2 separate regions of the Homo sapiens genome follow, and region 1 is linked to region 2. The links are contacts of gene promoters, found by promoter capture Hi-C in blood cells and fetal thymus (Javierre and others, 2016). All regions are on one chromosome and are shown on one strand. Each heading gives the region's core, a stretch centred on a gene start or on the middle of the fragment in contact. The rest is flanking DNA. Distances are from core to core; before and after follow the strand shown. Region 1 has its middle 22 kb from the start of ITLN1. Region 2 holds the start of CD244 (CD244 molecule).

Evidence for each region. The method cuts DNA at HindIII sites, captures the fragments that hold promoters and counts their contacts. A CHiCAGO score of 5 or more calls a contact.
Region 1: a contact is called between a fragment that was not itself captured here and the fragment with the promoter of CD244 in region 2, in 1 of 17 cell types (erythroblasts). The highest score is 6.5, in erythroblasts.

Annotation. Positions count from the first base shown.
Region 1 is chr1:160,906,025-160,909,013 of GRCh38, forward strand. No RefSeq gene overlaps it. Among named protein-coding and RNA genes, the nearest start is that of ITLN1, 22 kb to the left of the region's middle. The HindIII fragment of the contact is 675 bases long and covers 1,239-1,913 here.
Region 2 is chr1:160,861,102-160,864,297 of GRCh38, forward strand. It overlaps CD244 (CD244 molecule), which reads right to left and starts at 1,786. Exons shown (of 9, transcript NM_016382.4): 1 at 1,516-1,786. The coding sequence starts at 1,576. RefSeq lists an enhancer at 1,602-1,651. The HindIII fragment of the contact is 2,100 bases long and covers 1-1,813 here.

The sequences.
Region 1 (2,989 bases), core at 326-2,825, 45 kb after region 2:
GCCTCCCATCCCCCTGGAGGAGATTGGAGGCCACCCAAGGGATGGACGGTTCTTGGATAAGACCCCCTGTCAGTGAACATCTATATTGTCACGCACGTCCGTGTGAAGAGACCACCAAACAGGCTTATGTGAGCAATAAAGCTTTTTAATCACCTGGGTGCAGGCGGGCTGAGTCTGAAAAGAGAGTCAGCAAAAGGTGGTGGGATTATCATTAGTTCTTATAGGTTTGGGATAGGCATACAAAGTACATTCCCAAGGGCGGGGAGAATATTACAAAGTACCTTCCTAAGGGCAGGGGAGAATATATCATATCAGTTAGGGTGGGGCAGGAACAAATCACAATGGTGGAATGCCATCAGTTTAGCCTATTTTCACTTCTTTTGTGGATCTTCAGTTGCTTCAGGCCATCTGGATGTATACGTGCAGGTCACAGGGGATATGTTGGCTTAGCTTGGGCTCAGAGGCCTGACATATATGATCAGGTGAACGCGTTCTCAGTGACGACTCCTCATCAAACTTCCCTAGTAGAGGGGTGCCTCCAGGAGGGACTTAAAAAGGGAGACTCTTAGGCACTTTTTGGCGCATTCCCTGTCATTGTTCAAAATGATAGGAGACGGCATGAGAGTTTGCCTTTTACTGTTTTTAAAGAGATAAAGAAAAGTATCTGTGAAAATGGTGTACATTCACCCTTTACCCAGGGGATGATTGAGGCTCTGGGAAATGGCTATAAGATGACTCCGCATGATTGGAAAACTTTAGTAAAAGTTTTGGTTTCAGCTGCAGAATATACTGTGCGGTGGAGTGAGTACAGTGATCTATCCATGCAGCAGCCCTTGCAAAATTTGGATAATAATATCCCAACACAGCTTGATATGCTATTGGGACCAGGTCCTTTTGCTTGAGCTCAGGCTCAAGCTCAAATAAACAGCCATCTATTTCCACAATGCTTGCAGCTAGCAATACAGGCATAGAAGAGGATACCCACGGGACAATCCCAGGGTTCCTTTATAACAGTTAAACAGAGTGCCACAGAAACATTCCTTTATAACAGTTAAACAGAGTGCCACAGAAACATACGTTGAATTTATCAACTGATTGCAAGCTGCACGTAGTGACCAACATCACATCAGCAGAGCTATAAAAAAACTCTGCTATTCAAATCCACTGCACACGGAATAAATCAGAAGATAAAATAAAAGTCTGTCAAAATTCATACAACTTGTGAGTGAGTTCTAAAAAGCTTAGTTTAGAAGGGCTAGAGAAAGAAAAACTTCAATGGGGCCCAAATCAGAATGCTTGTAATGAAACCCAGTCTCCAGGAAAACAACACTCACATGTGTTCAATCATATAAAATGATTTGTAACATCTCTAATTAGGTGAATCAACTAGAAACAAACTCACTAGTCAAAATAAATTTTTAAAGTATCTTGTAACCTATATTTTACTTTTCTGAGTATATTAAGGGGCTGCCAGCCCAGAGATATACTTAAGATATAGGCAAAAAATCCCCAGGCCTTTACACAAAAGATTTCCACTTTCAAACCAATGTCAGTGGACATTGATAAAAGTATAGCAGCATCCTCTACTAAGGTGATTTCATTTATTCCCTGCAACCCACTAATAAATATCCCACTTCTCCCAAACAGTATTTAAGCTCCTAGCTAAGCAAAAAACTATTGTCTATTAGCATTCAACTGAAGAAAAGAAAGATAAAATATTGTCTTGTTTCCATCACTGTATTACTTGGGCAACATAATTACATAATTCTTACCCTAAGAGAAAGCCTTCATATTTTTTTAAAAGTCTTTTCAAATAAAATCTTCTTATGTTTTAAACAATATAAAATACAAACTTTCACTTTATTTATTGTAAATTATAAAGAGATCATTGTCTTAATATATTGTTAGCTTCAAGCTTCCTAAAATATAAAAACATTGTTGTCTAAAGTCACATATTAACACTAAGCTCCGTGGTTTACAGAATCTCCTACATTTTTGCAAGCTCAAGCTGATCATTCCTTTTTTTATCAGAACAACCACAGTCTTAAACAACAGTTTTATTTGGCGCTCACTCAAGCTCGCATGATTATTAAAACCTGTCCTGACTGCCAATGGCATTCGCTCTCCCCTTTTTCGTTAGGACTTGGTGCCAACCCACGAGGTCTGGTGCCTAATGCTATCTGGCAAACTGATATTACTCAGCATCCACCCTTTAGATGCTTCAAATTTCTCCACGTTACTGTAGACACTTATACAGGCCTGAAATATGCTACTCCTCAGACTACAGAAAAAACTAAAGATGCAATTGCTCATCTTTTTAAATCTATTATGACTTTAGGCCTTCCACAAATTACAAAAACTGATAATAGACATTGCTGTCTTAGTGCTCGATTTACATATGCATTTACAACTGTGGCACATACAACACAAGACTGGCATTCCTTATAACTCAACCAGTCAGGCCAATGTTGAGCGAGCTCATCAAACTCTTAAAGTATATCTTAACAAACAAAAAAGGGGGAATATTGGGCTTTCTCCTCGAGAACAGGTAGGAGACAACTGAACCCCTCCTGATGATGAAAGACCTGTCGTTGGAGAATCGACCAGCAATGATAGCGATGACTCGGAAGGCATCTGACATTACCTGAGGGCAGCTAAAGAAATTGGATCAACAGGCAACTATCCAGCTTGTTGCCATGGGAGCCCCTGCAATTGCAGAGAATTGGTTTCTTATGTATCTGGCAGTAATTGGGGGAGCTTTTGAGAAAGTAAGACAGACATGGATGCTGGGGTGGCTGGTGATTCTCATCCTTTGCCAAGTGGGATCAGCTCAAGAACATGTTTACTGGAATCATATTCTGAATCCCACTGTTGGAAATGTTATTATGTGGTGGGATGCTGACCCGCCTTTGTCATCTAATGATACTTCTTGGATGGGAGGTCGATGGATGCCCCTGTCTTACCCCTTAACTGAAAATTTGGGATGGAT
Region 2 (3,196 bases), core at 536-3,035:
CACCAATCCCATCAGTCCTCCTTCGGCTGTCTGAGCTGCATTCAAGGATCCTTAGACCAGGTTCCAACCTAGCTCTCCTGCCTAGAATCCTGGGCCACTAGGCCCCCCAACCCACCCACAAGAGCTGCAGGCTCCACTCCTCCCTCCCTGCTCCCTGTTCCTCATCATGCTCTGCCCTAGGCTGCCTGCATCCTTACAAATGTTGAGTCCACCTGAGCCTTGACTGTGTCTTCCTGAAGGACACAAGAATGCTCAGGGACTCGGTAACTGAATTGAGTACCTGGGCATGGGACTTTATTGCATATGGGGCTTCTACCTGGCCCTGAACCCACACAACACTATGCCTCAGTTTCCCCTCTTTGTGCCCAGAGTGTACCCTCCTCTAATTCCACGCTCTCCACCTCCGTGAAGCCCCTGCAGAGTCACTGATCTAAAATGCAGAACCCTGGCTGGGCATGGTGGCTCACACCTGTAATCCCAGCACTTTGGATGGGGGAGACCAAGGTGGGCAGATCACCTGAGGTCAGGAGTTCAAGACCAGCCTGGCCAACATGGTGAAACCTGGTCTCTACTAAAAATACAAAAATTAGCCAAGCATGGTGGCGCACGTCTGTAATTTCACCTACTCGGGAGGCTGAGGCATGAGAATCACTTGAACCCGGGAGGCAGAGTTTGTAGTGAGCCAAGATCACGCCACTGCACTCCAGCCTGGGTGACAGAAGGAGACTCTGTCTCAAAAAATAAATAAATAAATAAAAATTAAAAATGAAATAAATAAATTAATTCAATTAAATTAAATGCGGGATCCAGGTTTCAGAGCATCCTGGACCCCAGAACTGGAGAAAGAGGGGAGCAGCCCTCAGCTGGGATCCCCAGGAGTAAATGTTAGATGGCTCCATGCCTGGCTGACAGCTTTAGGTTTGCTGTGGAGCTTCCTCATATTGTCTCCTTCTTCTGCCCCAACCCTGCATGTCCCTAATAATTTCCAGGCTCCTGTGGCATCTGGATGGCTGAAGAAGCCGGGGAGATGAGGGACCATGCCTTCCAGCTTCTTCCTGGCTGCTGGCCTCGCCCTCCCCTCCCTGGGCTCAGCTTTCCTGCCTCAGGGGTCCATCCATCTGTCTCTGAGCTCGAGAACCACCCACTTCCTTGGGACTGCTTCTCTTCTCTCATGCCACAATTGGAGGATGCAATTTTCATCATCTTTACAGGCGGCTGGAAGGAGGCTTCTCTCTCCACTACACGGAAGGGTAAATTGAAGCCAGTGGGAAGGAATCTCCTCACCCAAGACTTCCTGGATTGCTGGTGGCAGGGCCAGATACCCCTCTCACAGACCTCCCAGTGCACTGCCAGCCTGTCCTGTCTGATTTAGACTGTCAGAGCTGTCAGGAGCTGCTCGGAGTCAAGTTCCAGATGACTGTGTATGTGGCACAAGCAGAGGCTCTGGCTCTGATCTCCCTGAGGGGCACAGCTCCTAGTCCCTCCCTCGCCCCACGCCAGGTAGGACCTCCTTACCTTTGCCCTGATACACCTTGAGGAGCAGGAGGAGTATGAGGGTGACCACTTGCCCCAGCATTTCCACAGGACAGAGGGGCCAGGCCAGCCCCTCCACCCCACCAGACTCTCTGCCGTGCACGGGCTCAGCAGTCCCCAGTCAGCAAGAGGACGATGGGGAGCAGAACTGCCTTGCAACCTGTCCAGCCACAGTTTCCTCAATTAGAGGCTGTTAACGCCTGCTGTGAGCTGACAAGGCCACTGAGAAAGCCCCAGCGCCTGGAGCTGGTCTGACAGTTCCCACAAGCCAAACTGGTGAAGCTTACCTCAAGTGGGAGGGTGCTTGAAGTTCACAGTGACTCACAAAGCCAGTTTCAAAATTGCATCCCGTTCTCTGCTTCAGCCCAAGAAGTCTTCCAATTCTCTGAATCCTATATGGAGAGACCCCCATGGGGGCCAAACAGCCAGTATCCCCAACTGTTCCATTCCAACAGACATTGTGGAGGTGGAGTGGAGAGGGGCTGGAGGAGGAGTGGGCTGAAACGTAGGGCCCTGGATAAGCGGCTAACAGTGTTGAAGGAAAGGAGGAGTAGCTGAGAGAACATAGGAAGAGACCTAAGGGCTGGAGGCACTAGAAAAATCTAGCAAGCCTGGGGATTCCATGCAAGTTGACACCAAAGTTTAAGCACATGTAAATTAAATTTGTTTCATAAGAATTTGTTTCACACGGGGCACAGTGGCTCACGCCTGTAATCCCAACACTTTGGGAGACTGAAGCAGGCAGATCACTTGAGATCAGGAGATCGAGACTAGCCTGGCCAATATGGTGAATCCCCACCTCTACTAAAAATAGAGAAATTAGCCAGGCTGGGTGGCGTGCACCTGTAATCCAAGCTACTTGGGAGGCTGAGGCAGGGGAATCACTTGAGCAAAGGAGGTGGAGGTTGCGGTAAGCCAAGATCACGCCACTGCACTCCAGCCTAGGTGACAGAGCGACACTGTGTCTCAAAAAAAAAAAAAAAAATTTTGTTTTGCTCCACATTTCCGATCTGTATGCCTAGATTCCCTCCCTTCCTCTTTTTCTACTTTTCTATAGTAGTCCTCTCTTCCCTCTTTTGTCTTCTCCCAGAAGTGACATGGGCCTATTTTTGCTGCCTTCCCATCCATGCTTGGACGCCACCCTCCAGGAAGGCCAGGCAGCTCTGGATCTGCTTAGGCCCCCATGGAGGGGTGGGGACAGCGGCATCCCCCCTCCCCTGGAACACTGTGCTTCAAGGCCAGGCCCCAGGGTTCATGCCTCTTTCTTTCTTCCTTCTGCTTTCCCCTTAACAAATACTTTCAGTTCCCTTCAAGTCCGCTCTTATTCTCTTTTTCCATCCTTTGGTCCATTTCCAGCCACCCTGTCTGAACTGGGCAGGGGGCAGCAGACTGACAGCTTCAGCTGCCAACAGAGGCAGCAGCGGGGCTCTGGACAGAGCGCTGGATTTAGAGTCAAAGACTTGGACTTGCAGCTCCCATTCAGCAACTTACAACCTATGTGATTCTGGCCTTGTTGCTGTCTGAGCCTGTAGGGTCAACAATACATCCTCCCCACCTTCACAAGGCAGTTTTCAGGATCAAATTAAAAATGATACTCCAGAATATGCACACAAAAAACACTGGACATAGATGAGGTTTTTGTGGTTTTGTTTTCATTTTTTTA